2 separate regions of the Homo sapiens genome follow, and region 2 is linked to region 1. Evidence: promoter capture Hi-C in human tissues and cell types (Jung and others, 2019). All regions are on one chromosome and are shown on one strand. The core of a region is centred on a gene start or on the middle of the fragment in contact, and the rest is flanking DNA. Distances in the headings are between cores, read along the strand shown. Region 1 holds the start of DLEU7 (deleted in lymphocytic leukemia 7). Region 2 has its middle 29 kb from the start of DLEU1-AS1.

The links. The method cuts DNA at HindIII sites, captures the fragments that hold promoters and counts their contacts. A contact is called where the count stands out against the background at its distance.
Region 2: a contact is called between a fragment that was not itself captured here and the fragment with the promoter of DLEU7 in region 1, in 2 of the 25 tissues and cell types used here (IMR-90 fibroblasts and mesenchymal stem cells).

The regions. Positions count from the first base shown.
Region 1 is chr13:50,842,379-50,849,482 of GRCh38, reverse strand. DLEU7 (deleted in lymphocytic leukemia 7) reads left to right here and starts at 5,791. Exons shown (of 2, transcript NM_001306135.2): 1 at 5,791-6,295. The coding sequence starts at 5,837. It overlaps DLEU7-AS1 (DLEU7 antisense RNA 1), which reads right to left. Exons shown (of 5, transcript NR_046551.1): 5 at 1-946. RefSeq lists an enhancer at 5,935-6,861. The HindIII fragment of the contact is 10,732 bases long and covers 355-7,104 here.
Region 2 is chr13:50,553,298-50,560,165 of GRCh38, reverse strand. No RefSeq gene overlaps it. Among named protein-coding and RNA genes, the nearest start is that of DLEU1-AS1, 29 kb to the right of the region's middle. The HindIII fragment of the contact is 5,884 bases long and covers 1,057-6,868 here.

The sequences.
Region 1 (7,104 bases), core at 4,542-7,041:
TAAAACTCCAATGTCTGCTCGGCCATAAAGCCTGCCAGAAAAGAACTTGGAGAACAAGAGGAGAAAATTCCTTAGAGGAAAAGAAGTGTGTAAGGGAATGAGGATGAATGTAAGGAAAGGTACAGAGAAGATTTTTTAAAAAATTTAAATATAACACCGGGTGTGGTGGCTCACACCTGTAATCTCAACACTTTGGGAGGCTAAGGTGGGCATGGGCAGGTCACTTGAGGTCAGGAGTCTGAGACCAGCCTGGCCAACATGATGAAAACCCACCTCTATTAAAAATACAAAAATTAGCTGGGTGTGGTGGTACATATCCATAATCCCAGCTATCCAGGAGGCTGAGGCAGGAGAATTGCTTGAACCCGGGAGGCAGAGGTTGCGATGAGCTGAGATTGTGCCACTGCACTCCAGCCTGCCCGACAGAGCAAGACTCTGTCTCAAAAATAAATAAATAAATAAAAATAAAAAATAAAAATAAATTTAAATATATAGACCCAAGTCAAGCATTTCTTTCCATCACAGTAAAAGGGTACCTACTGAAACTTGAAAATACAGGATGATCCTGGAAAGTGATAAAGGTGGTCACATTTTTTTCATTAAGGATCCTAGAATTTAGTTGGCAAAATCACTGAAACTCACTTGACCTTTCTCTTCTCCATTTTTATCACTACTACTCTTTCTGCCACCTCATTTCAATACTATAAGCCATATCTACACAGATAATCAAAATAGTTCAGGAAACCAAGAAGCTTTCTTGGTTTTCTCTCCAAGTGAAATTTTTCCAAGTAAATTTTTCTCTCCAAGTGAAAGGATGTTCCGCAGGGGTTAGATTTTATAATCCAAAATGGAGGGGGAAATCCAGCAAGGTTGTCTTACTGAAATGTAGGCAGCATGAAAATTCATGGCATTCCGTCACTCTTAAACTTGAAATCATCCACCAAAGCTACAATAATTAGAAAAAATTATATTGACTTTTAAAAAATCCACTTTTGATTTTTTTCTGCCAATATCAATAATTCTCCTTGGAAATAAACTAACTGATTACTAAGCCGAAACCAAATAACTGATTATTAAGACAGAACCAAGCACAATGATTTATATGTCCAGAAAGAAATGCATTTTGTGTTGACAAATTGCAAAGGCGCAAATGTACATCAGATGACATCTGGACTGGCAGGTGAGAGTTAACATTTTTAACTTATTTTCTTTCCCTTTACCCACTCTTGTCTATTTTTCTTCTCTAGCTTCATTAAACTTCACCAGCTTCACAAGGTCTGGGAAGGTAGTGCATATGATGTTCTGAAAGCACACCATCCTATGTAAACAATTGTTTTTGGCAATTCAGAGACTTCAGGGCGGTATTGCGTCTTTGTTTTATCCACCAAAATCAAATGTTTAGGCCAAAGTTAGAAGGGCACGTGCATTTACTTTTATAACTTGGCATATTCAAACATTACAATGGTACGTTTAAAAAAAAGAATTTGGTCTTTTTTGCTCTTTCTTTCTTTCTTGGGCCTACACCTTGTCCTAGTTCCATTGTTTTCTCTTTGACAGTACATTTTCATATCTTGGTGTATCTCTTCAGCATCTGTTTCTCCTCAATCATAATTTTCATTCACGAATAATAACTCTTTGGTCTCTTTGGACATGTTTTGTTCTGACCTCACCTATGAACTTCACCAGGGTGCGCTGAAGGTTAACAGCTCTATTTCTGGAATTCTCTTGGATCCTTTTTGAGGAAAAATGCCAAAGAATATAAACAGGGCTCAAATGTATCTGGGCTCTGCCAAGTCCTTTGAGGACAGCTCCACAGAACTGTACCTTCTGCCAGCTCCCTTCGGTTCTCATTGTGCCCGGCTTCTCCACGATTCCACATAGGAACCTGCATCTTTTGCTCATGCAGGAAAGGAAACTTTGGATTAACAGAAGTGCCAGAATATTCATTTATCTAACAACACTCTACCTTGCCCATTAACAGGTAGAAAATTGCTTCTCACTTCACTGAGCTTTCTACCCTCTTCTCTTTTCCATCCCACAGGGTGCTGAATGTTTCCAGTGCTCATTTAAAAATGCTCCCATCAGAGTTACCCAAAGAGCTTTTCCCACAATTGTTGAGACTGTAGAAAGGTTAGGTGAATGGCATAAGCACTGCTAGAAGTAGTTGGTTGGAGGGACCTTCTGGCAGTGCCTTGCCTAAGGGGCACTGGGTCACAGGGTCACTCCATGAACATGCCATCTTTCCTATAACATATGTCAGGCTATTTGCTTCAGCTGTGACTCCTTCTGTTGCAGTAGGCAGTAAATCCAATCCAAAGAGGCTTAAGCAAAAAGAGACTTCATCGGCTCGTATAACTGAAAAGCTCAGAGGTGGGGCTGACTTCCTGTGCTGCTAAATGTGGACCTCAAATGCTGCTATACAGCCACGGTTTCTCTCTATACATCTGTTGGCTTTTGTTTCATGAACGTCTTCTCTCCATGAGTGCTGGCTCATTCATAGGCGGGCTGTCCCCATCAAACTCACAAGATGGCTGCAGAGGCTCCAGAACTTGTATCTTCTCAGCTTTACTTGCACAGGGGTCACTGAAGTCAGATATTTGACAGTAGAAAGATCAGCCTCATGAAACTGGACTTGCTGTGTATTGATAAAGAGAAGCAGCCCTGGAAATCTGATATATTCTTTACCTGGAAACCCCTGCAAAATCCTCATTGTTCTCTGTTGCCATTGCTGATGCTTGGTAACAAAACCTTGCTTCATATCAAGTAGTTTTCATCCTCCCTCCACCAATTGCTTTGAGAGAGGCTAGGCTCAGCCCCAACTCCTACACTGAATTCTAGTTCACCTTAGACTCTCATGGTAGCCTCTTTCCTCTTGACTGTGATTAATTAGGCAAGAACATGTGACACAATTCTGGTCAAGGAGATGTGAGAGGAAGCCAGCTGAAGGCTTTTGAGAAGTGTTTCCTTGCTCTTGAGAAGGAATACACAGGAAAAGATGGCCTTTTCTTCTAGTTATTGTTGTCTAGACATGATGCCAGCAGCTGCTAGTAGCCATAGGAGAACTAGCCCAAAAATTAAGGACAAAGCTGATGTGCTGGGAATGGCATGGCAGAAAGAAGGAAGGAACAAAGGGCTTTGATGACACTGAGGAGCTGCTATATTAACCAACTCTGGAGCCACTCTGCCTTTGGACTTCTTGTGATGTGAGACAATAAATTATTCTTATTGATTAAACTATGTTATGTTGAGTTTTCTGGTTTAAAGGGAATTTGATCTTTTGCTGTTTCATCTCTTGGCCTACACTTCTTTTTTGGCCTGTACTCTTTGCATCTGTTGTTTTCTCTTTTACAGTGCATTCAGCTGAAAGCATCCTAAAAGATACTGTCTCATTGGCTCTAGCTGGGTCATGTGCCCATTCCTGACCATGCATGCACTGTGGGGATGTGATGTGTGATGGGACTTAGGCTAGATGATCCAGTACTCTTCTGCAGTGAGATGGGCTCATCCCATCTGACTTCACGGGCAGAGTGTGGAGGAAAAGGCATATCTACTGAGAAATGAGGGTATGATTTCTATAAAATAGTGAAATATATGTTGTGAAACAAACATATCAGATATCTAATACTTTGTCCTTTTGAATGTGCCCTTTATTACAGAATGGCCTCAAATCGTGAGTACAGTGGGTAAGAAGTAGGCTATCTGTTACTTCGTCTGGTAGCCCAGCAAACGTAACTACGGAGGTGTTTTAGACCAAAGGTAGATCTGCTATGCTATTGACTCATCTAAATAGACTATGAAAATTTTTCCTGAGTTAGGCTCTCATATCTCTAGCTTTGGAACACAAGCCATTTTGAGATCATAGCAAAACACAGTGCGACCCACAGCCAAAACAGACAAAACACTCAGTTGCCAGATGATCCAGGGCTTCCTAAGAATACTAGAAAAAGCAGGCAGCAATTTAAGCAGCATGTGCCATCCCTCAGGCCCCAAGGTTTTCTGGCACCCTTCTGTCATGCCCCCTGAGGTTCAGTTGGTCTCATGGCTCTGACTCAGTGTGGTATGTAGAAGAGTGGGGCCTCAGGTCAGCCTGTGTCTAGTGATTTCAATTCTGCTCTTGGCTGCAATTCCAACTGTCAAGAAAGTTTTGCAGTCAGCCATTTGATAGTGGAAGGGTTAGCCCATGAAACTGAATTTCCTGTGTATCTGGAAAGAGAGGCAGCCCTAGAGATCTGACATGCTCTGTGAAAATTAGGGGTTCATTTTTGCTATTGCTGGTTAGTCTCTGCTGAACCTAATATATTTCAACATTTGAAGACTTTTTTTAAAAAGAAAATTTTTTTCTTTCTATTTTTTATTATGAACTTAAGTAACTTCATGGCAAAAAAATCTAATCAACATTAAACTATTTACTTCCCTCCAAAGTAATTTCCTCTCTGTCAATGCACAGACGTGCATTTTTACTTAGTTATAATTAGTGTGAACATACTCGTTTTTGTTTAAGAAAGGTTTTCTTTACCTTGGCATTCAGATTCGTTTTCATAGGCGAAGAAAGCACTGGGAAGGAGAAGGAACCTTTGCTGGCAAGTTGGGAGGATTATATGGGGTCATACTATCCCAGGGTTAAGGAAACCTTAAAGGACCCAACATCCCTCTCCATATCTCTTCTGATGATCCTTTTGTGCTCACAGACTAACCAGTGTGGCCTTTTCACTCAAAAGCCTCTCCAGATCTGCACAGCACCAAGGGTGCAGTCTGGCTCCCAAAGGAGTAATGCAATTCCATCCTCAGGTCTGCCAGGGCCCACCTGTCTGTCGTGGGCATGCACCATTGCCCTGGCTTTACTGGGCTGTTGGGTTGTCTAGTGGTTTTCCTTGCAGAAAGCAAGCAGGAACAATGCTGCTCCGGACTGGTTTTCCATACCACTCCTCTCAAATATCTTCTATTTTCTTAAGTGTGATCACACACCCATGGTTTCCAATCTATCAAAGCATAACATTGCTAGTCGCTTTTTTCTAAGTTAAGGAAGTAGCCATGTTGGGTTTAATTAAAAACAGCAACTATTTGTACAGCTGTCCCTAAGTTCATGGCTCATAAAAGGATTAACTTCAACCTTGCTGCCTAAGTCTTTTGGGAGTGTCACAAAAAAACATTTAGGCTTTTCTGGGCAGTGCCAGGCCTGGGCCTTGAGGCTTGCTGATGCTAGTTCAGCCACCAGGCTCTCGGTGCTCAAGTGGCACCCAGCAAAGCAGAGAAGAGCAGAACTTCCAGATACACAACTCCTCCTTCTTTTGTTTGGGGGATGCAAGGCCTTGAAGGCTGCTTCAACAAGTTTCTGAAAATTCCCCTCGGGTTGGGAAAGGCACAGTCTTCCTTTTGCAAGTTTTTCTAGAGCCCTTCGTACTTTTGCCCTAGAGTGGGTCTTTTGCACCCCCACCTCCCAGACCTCAGTGGTCATTGGCAGGCATCCTTCGAAGGAGGTGGGGGCGGGGTATCCCCGCCGATGGATGCGCCCGCACAAAGCAGCACGTTTTCTCATCAAAGCCCTGGAGAGAGGGAAGAAGCAACGCTCAGCATTTCGCTGATTTTCAAGTGCACACCGAGCAGCGCTTCAGGCAGCTTTGGGTCAGAACACGCCTGATTCGGACTTCAGGCGAAGGCAGAGGCCAGCACGGGTCACCGATTCAGAGCCGGGGGCGGGGCCGACCACACACGCTGTGAGACCCAGAGGCCGAGGAGCCGCGGGTTAGAAAATGTGACCTTGGCGACCCCAACGCCCCCGCCTCCCTCGCTGCTGCTCCACCTGCACGCGGAGCGCGCCGGGCCGCCAGCGGAGGCGATGGCCAGCCCTGCGCCCTTAGTGGCCTCCATCAGCCACCAAATGGTGGCTCTGCAGACCTTGCAGCTGCTGCAGCAGGAGTGGGGCTGGGGGGACGGTCCAGTCGCCCCCGGGAACCCGCGGGACCCAGACCACGTGTCCACCGCTCCAGCCCGTCGCTCAGGCCCGCCGCGGGCCCGGCCGGGGCCCGGGCGCGAGGAGCGGGGCGGGGGCGTGGGGACCAGGAGTCGGCGGACCGCGGCGCGGGCGAACTCCCCAGAGGAGGAGGTAGTGCGAGGCGCTGAGGGGGGCGCCGAGTTGCTGCCCTTCCCCCGGGACCGCGGGCCCTGCACCCTGGCCCAGATGGCGATGCGCAGCGCGCTGGCCCGCGTGGTGGACTCGACTTCGGAGCTGGTCAGCGTGGAGCAGACGCTGCTGGGGCCCCTCCAGCAGGAGCGGTCCTTTCCCATTCACCTGAAGGTGAGTCTGGCCCCCGCCATCCCCTCTGGCGTGCAGGGTAACCTCCCATCCTCCAAGGGTGGGGCTGCTGGGATGGCGATGGGTGGATCGCAGGATCCCAAACACTGCTGCCCACTGTGATTCAGCCCCAGTGGGAGAAGGAAGGGGGCGGGGGACACTCTGGGGACTCAGCAGGAGGGGCAGGGAGCCCCAGACCCACCTGAGGCCCGCCTGGCTGGCACAACCGAGATGTGGGGACTGCCTTGCCAAAACCTCCCCCTGGAACTCCTTCCTCTCTCACATAAATCAGCTTCCTGCGCTAGAAAGGCCCTTTCCACACGTGCAGCTTGTAGGGATAGAGGACAGCTCCCCCCACCCACTTTCCAAATTAATAACGCTTCCTCCAGAGCCTTAAATACACTTACTAAGTCCCTTCTGCCTTTTGTATGATGAAATCATCTACATTTATTTAAAGTTCCTTCACATTCATGAATCACTATTATTTTTTGCATAAATCCAATTCCCCACAGAGCTAAGGGGTCTTACAGAGTCAACCTACATTCTCATAAAGTGGGGTGAGAGCTGGGTGGGTCCCGGGTGTTAAAGCGTGAATACTAAATGCTAAACTCTTGCTAAGTCACCCAGCTCATATAGGTAGGGCACATTTCCTCTTAAGGTACCAAACTGTGTTAGCCAATTTAGCCCGGGAAGGGAGCAGCTGTCTCCCAGGCTGAGTGAGATTGCGGAAATCTGGGGGTCTGGGTTTCAGTCCTGGACTTGCCATTAACTAACCTAATTGGTTTAAGGTCACGAATCTCTCTGAGACATTC
Region 2 (6,868 bases), core at 2,749-5,248, 290 kb after region 1:
TTCCAGAATCCATGCATGAAACCACCATACCTTGATATATTCATAGACAAAAGATGGGAAGGGGAGAGCAACAGCGGATGCTAGCAGTGTTTTCTTCTGACTTGCAAACCAATATATAGTTTGTATTAACTTCTTTGGAACATGAGGGTTGTCTCTCTACCCACAATAGATCCCATGCTGGTGGCTCTGCTCTTTCAGACAAAAGCATTTTCTGGTGAGTCCAGGACCATGTTCTAAGCAAAGGATCCCATGCCCGGGTCAATACAGCTCTGGGTTGAGTGCTGGCCCTGGCCCAAAACATAGGAACCTTATAAGCCACAAAGGCCCTGTTGGGGCCCTAAGGCATGGCTTTGTCTCCTTCTGAAGCTGTACCCTGAAACTCTGTCTTTCCTAAAGCTATCCGTTCATATGAGACATTCCTCTAAGCAATAAATCTCTTAACATTATTATTCCTGCAGGAGTCGGGGGTGCCTAGACTGTCAGAGTTTTCTTGGGATATAAAATTGTTCTGGAAATGATATGTTGGTACATTTATCTTCATTTTCTACCCTATCCCCCCAACCACTATGTAGATCTGGAAAGTCCTCTCCTGCAGCAGAAAGGGCTGTGTCTTGGCATATGAAGCAAAGCAGATGTCTACCTTTCATCTTTTCTCCACCATTCCACCATGACTTAAAAAAAACCAAATTTTTGTTGCACTTCCTATAAATTTTCAGATAAGTCACCTTCTGAAATTGGTATCCCAGCCCCGGCATAAATGCTTTTTTTTCCCCCTATACTTGGGCTTCTCCTACTATATACCAGTTACTGAAATTCATCTCATACTTGGCTACAAATGTCACTGTTTTCTTCTTCTGATCTTGTTCCCTGTTGAGTCTGGGACATCCCAGACCACAAAAAGCAAATACCAGGAGTATTTTGGGGAGACATGGCCAGCTGACTTCACAATTACTTAGTCTGCTCCAGGCTCTCCCAAAGTCAAGGTCTGCTTGAATTTTGCCAGGGCTTTTGTTCCATGTCCTAACTTTGACCTCTCTTTCAACATCTTTCTGCATGTAGGTTGCACATAGCATCATCTCCTACCTAGAAGCATCCTCTAGCTATAAGCAAGTCTCTCTAAGCCTATTTTCACAAAAGAGGCTTTCATGCTTACCTTATTCCCTGGAAGCCAAGCCATCATCCATCACTGTGCTACAGGGTGGTCTCTAGAGCTATCACATCCTCCACTTTACTGCTTCTCTGATTTCTGCTCCCAGACCCTGGGAAATCCCTCTCAGTCTTACGGGTGAGATGAAATTTTAAAACATCAGCTCTCAGTTGGACCCTTGTGGGTAAAAGCCACCTCCCTTCAATCCACACTCAACACTTTCCCATTCCCCATTGCAATTTTTCTTTGTTTACTTTTTTATTATGTGTGCAGATGTCATCCTCACTCTTAGAATGAAACCCCATAAAAGCAAGAATTATTTAATTCATTTTTAATATCCCCTAGGCACTTTTTCATCAGCATCTGGTACAAGGTTTTATTCATAGCAGGCGTTCTGCAAATATTTTATTTACTTACTTTCTTTCTTTCTTTGTTTGCTTGCTTGCTTGCTTCCTTGCTTTAAAGAGCACCTAGATTTTCAGGCCAGGGTAGAGTGCTCATGGCCATCTTAAACTTTCTTCAATATTTTGATTACTAAAGCCAACTGACATGGAGGATATAGGGCTAGAAAGAGAGGGAGCATCGAGCAAGTCTGGAATTCTTTCTTTTGATCTGTAATTAACTTGCTCTGTGAATATGGTACTTTCCCTCCCAAGGCTGCAGCAGATCCCCGTTCTGACCACTACTTCAACATGCATCACTCTTCCTGCTCTGCCCAACCTTGTCCTTGCGACAAGCTGCCATTCCTTCTTCAGGACTCATTCAAGGATTTCCTTCTCTGGAGAGACTTTCCTGCCTCCTGCTGAGGCCCCTCTGCTCTCAACTCCTATAGGACCTGATGAGAATCCCTAACATATCCTGTATCTGTTTGACTATAGTTTGGCTGCATGGAATAAACAACTCCAAAATAACAGTGGCTTAAACAAGATAGAAATTTTCTTCTCATGTTAAGAGAAAAAACCCAACAAATTATGAGTAAGCAGTTCAAGGTTGGTGAAGCTACTCCACAGTACCATCAGAGACCTAGGCTTCTAAACTTCAACACTCTAGTACTTGGCCCCCATACTCAAGGTCACTTCATGTTTCGAAAAGGCTGCTGGAGTTTCAGGCCAGAAGAAGGAAGAAAGGCAACTAGGAAAGAGCAGCCCCTTCTTCTCCATTAGCTTCCTTTAAAGAACTCCTGGGAAGTCCACATAACACATTTCTATTTACATTTCCTTACACAGACAATATTTTTGCTTCTTTATGATTTGCTTAATAATATTTTCTTTTCTCTAGCTTGCGCTTTCTTATAAAAATACAGTATAAAATACAGTACATATGTATTATAAGGAAGAAAAAACATGTTTACTATTGATTAAGTGGAAGTAGTCCACTTAAGTGGATTAAGATCTCCAACCTCATCATCTTCATCTTCATTTTAAGTAGGTTGAAGAGAAAGATGAGGGGTTAGTCTTGCTGCCACAGGGGTGACAGCGACAGGAGAGATAGGCACACTTGGTGTAACTTTACAGAAAGACATCATAATTTCTGCCTGACTTTTTTTGCTTTTCCATTTCTTGAAAAATGATGTTTCTCTATGGTACCAATTTTTCTTTCACCATTTGCTTTAGTTTTAGTGCCCATATCATGGAAGGGTCCATGCGTAAAAGAAGTCAAAAGCAGTCTTGAATAATCACCCTTCTGCCTGACTGTCAACTGTCAATTTGTCTTCTGGTACTGCTTCTGTGTCATCTTCCTCATCACCTGGCAGTGGTTCAGAACCACTCATCTCCATCAAGTTATCCTCTGTTAATTTCTCTGGTGTGGTGTCTATTAGCTATAGAATTGGATAATTGGAGAAACAAGATCCATATCTTGAAACCCTTCATCTTCCACCTTTTTTGCCTTATCCACAGTCTCTTTTACGATTTCCTGGGTTGGTTCCATCATAAATCCTGTGAAGTCATGCACAACATCTGGACACAGTTTTCTCCAGCAGAAACTTATTGTTTCAAGCTTGATGGCTTTCATGGCTTCTTCTATAACAACAATGGCATCTGCAACGTTGTAATCCTTCCAGACCTTCATGATGTTCTCTTGGGCTCTCTTCCACAGTATTGACAGTCCTTTGCAAAGGGTACCATGTGTAATGAGGCTTAAAGGTCCTATGACTCCTTGATCTAGAGACTGAATTAGAGACATTGTGCTTCGGGGCAAGTAGACCACTCAACACCTTCAATGGTGAAGGCATGAGGCTCTGAGTGGCCAGGGGCATTGTCCATTATCAAAGGAACTTTGAAAGGCACTCCCTTACTGGCAAGGTATTTCCTGACTTCAGGAACAAAGCATCGTTGGAACTAATCCAGACAAAGAGTTCTCGTTGTCCAGGCCTTCTTGTTGTACAACCGAAAGACTGGCAGCTGGTGTTTATCTTTTCCCTTCAAGGCTTGGAGATTGGCAACTTTCTGGATAAGAGCAGCCCGGTCATAAACTTGACTACATATGCACAAAACAGTAGAGTTAGCCTAACCCTTCTGGCCTTAAATCCTGGTGCTCACTTCTCTTCCTTACTAATAAATGTCCTTTGTGGCTTTTTTTTCTTTTTTCCCAGAATAGGGCACTTTTGTCTGTATTAAAAGCCTACTTGGGCAGATATCCTTTCTCTTCAATGATTTTCTTTTTTTTTTTTTTCCTTTTCAGATAACTTTTTTTAAAGTTTTATTTTTATTTATTTTATTTATTTATTTTTATTTTTTTTTACTATTATTATACTTTAAGTTTTTGGGTACATGTGCACAATGTGCAGGTTAGTTACATATGTATACATGTGCCATGCTGGTGTGCTGCACCCATTAACTTGTCATTTAGCATTAGGTATATCTCCTAATGCTATCCCTCCCCCCTCCCCCCACCCCACAACAGTCCCCAGAATGTGATGTTCCCCTTCCTGTGTCCATGTGTTCTCATTGTTCAGTTCCCATCTATGAGTGAGAACATGCGGTGTTTGGTTTTTTGTCCTTGCGATAGTTTACTGAGAATGATGATTTCCAATTTCATCCATGTCCCTACAAAGGACATGAACTCATCATTTTTTATGGCTGCCTAGTATTCTATGGTGTATATGTGCCACATTTTCTTAATCCAGTCTATCATTGTTGGACATTTGGCTTGGTTCCAAGTCTTTGCTATTGTGAATAGTGCCGCAATAAACATACGTGTGCATGTGTCTTTATAGCAGCATGATTTATAGTCCTTTGGGTATATACCCAGCAATGGGATGGCTGGGTCAAATGGTATTTCTAGTTCTAGATCCCTGAGGAATCGCCACACCGACTTCCACAATGGTTGAACTAGTTTACAGTCCCACCAACAGTGTAAAAGTGTTCCTATTTCTCCACATCCTCTCCAGCACCTGTTGTTTCCTGACTTTTTAATGATTGCCATTCTAACTGGTGTGAGATGGTATCTCATTGTGGTTTTGATTTGCATTTCTCTGATGGCCAGTGATGATGAGCATTTTTTCATGTGTCTTTTGGCTGCATAAATGTCTTCTTTTGAGAAGTGTCTGTTCATATCCTTTGCCCACTTTTTGATGGGGTTGTTTGTTTTTTTCTTGTAAATTTGAACAGAAATTATAACAAACTGTCTCTCAGACCACAGTGCAATCGAACTAGAACTCAGGATTAAGAAACTCACTGAAAACCGCTCAACTACATGGAAACTGAACAACCTGCTCCTGAATGACTACTGGGTACATAACGAAATGAAGGCAGAAATAAAGATGTTCTTTGAAACCAATGAGAACAAAGACACAACATACCAGAATCTCTGGGACACATTCAAAGCAGTGTGTAGAGGGAAATTTATAGCACTAAATGCCCACAGGAGAAAGCAGGAAAGATCCAAAATTGACACCCTAACATCACAATTAAAAGAACTAGAGAAGCAAGAGCAAACACATTCAAAAGCTAGCAGAAGGCAAGAAATAACTAAAATCAGAGCAGAACTGAAGGAAATAGAGACACAAAAAACCCTTCATAAATTAATGAATCTAGGATCTGGTTTTTTGAAAGGATCAACAAAATTGATAGACCGCTAGCAAGAATAATAAAGAAAAAAAGAGAGAAGAATCAAATAGACACAATAAAAAATGATAAAGGGGATATCACCACCGATCCCACAGAAATACAAACTACCATCAGAGAATACTACAAACACCTCTACGCAAATAAACTAGAAAATCTAGAAGAAATGGATACATTCCTCAACACATACACTCTCCCAAGACTAAACCAGGAAGAAGTTGAATCTCTGAATAGAACAATAACAGGATATGAAATTGTGGCAATAATCAATAGCTTACCAACCAAAAAGAGTCCAGGACCAGATGGATTCACAGCCGAATTCTACCAGAGGTACAAGGAGGAACTGGTACCATTCCTTCTGAAACTATTCCAATCAATAGAAAAAGAGGGAATCCTCCCTAACTCATTTTATGAGGCCAGCATCATCCTGATACCAAAGCCTGGCAGAGACACAACCAAAAAAGAGAATTTTAGACCAATATCCTTGATGAACATTGATGCAAAAATCCTCAATAAAATACTGGCAAACCGAATCCAGCAGCACATCAAAAAGCTTATCCACCATGATCAAGTGGGATTTTCTTAATACCATACGGGAACTGGTCTCCTGTCTCTTGGTTGGCAGAAATTGCTTCTACTATCTTGATATTTTTCAAGCCAAACCTCTCTCTAAAATTATCAAACTATCCTTTGCTGGCATTAAATTCTCCAGCTTTAGATCCTTTACCTTCCTTTTGCTTTAAGTTGTCACATGATGACATTGCTTTTTCTCTAAACATATTAGAGTCTATAGGTATGACTTTCTTATAGCAATCCTGCACCCACACTAAAGCTACATTTTTCAATACAAGATTAAAAGTATTTCACAAAAGTGCAAGATTTCCACACCTGCTGGTGTCACTGCAGCAACAGCTTCACAAATTTCCTTTTCTTTTTTTACTATGGCCCTTACATGGGGTTTACTTATCTTGAAATGGTGGGCAACTGCAGCTGCAGACCTCAATCTATGGTATGTGTCAGGCAATTCAACTTTTTCTTGTACTGTCATTACTTTTCTCTGCTTCTTGGGAGCACTTCCAGCATCACTATGGTGTGATTCAAGGTTTACTGTATTGTACCAAACATGATGAAATGTACAGGAGAACCCAAAGAGATCACTTTTTACTTTGATACACAATTCCTTAGCATCACACAGCATTTAAGCGAATACTCACAGCAGGGGAACTCACTGCAATAGCAACTGTAGGTGGCTACAAAATTATTATAATAGAACAGTATGTACTACAGTTAATTTTATGCAGCTATGATTTAACACTGCATCATTACTTTTAAATATTTCTACTGTAAATGGTGCCATGTATGGTCTCTTTGCATAAGTTTTAATAAATTTTAGCTTTCTATAATAGATTTGTGTATATTTTATGGTAGCAAATCACAAAATAGACTAGTACCTACATATATTTTATGGATTCATGACATACCCCTTTTTCTAGGCTACACAGTTTGTCTGCAACTTTTTTCAAGCTGTTGCAAATCATCAACAAATTTTCCAATATATTTATTGAAAAAAATCCATGTATAAGTAGACTCACACAGTTCAAACTCATGTTGCTTAAGGGTCAATTGTACCATCTATTTTTAAGACCCTGGAAGG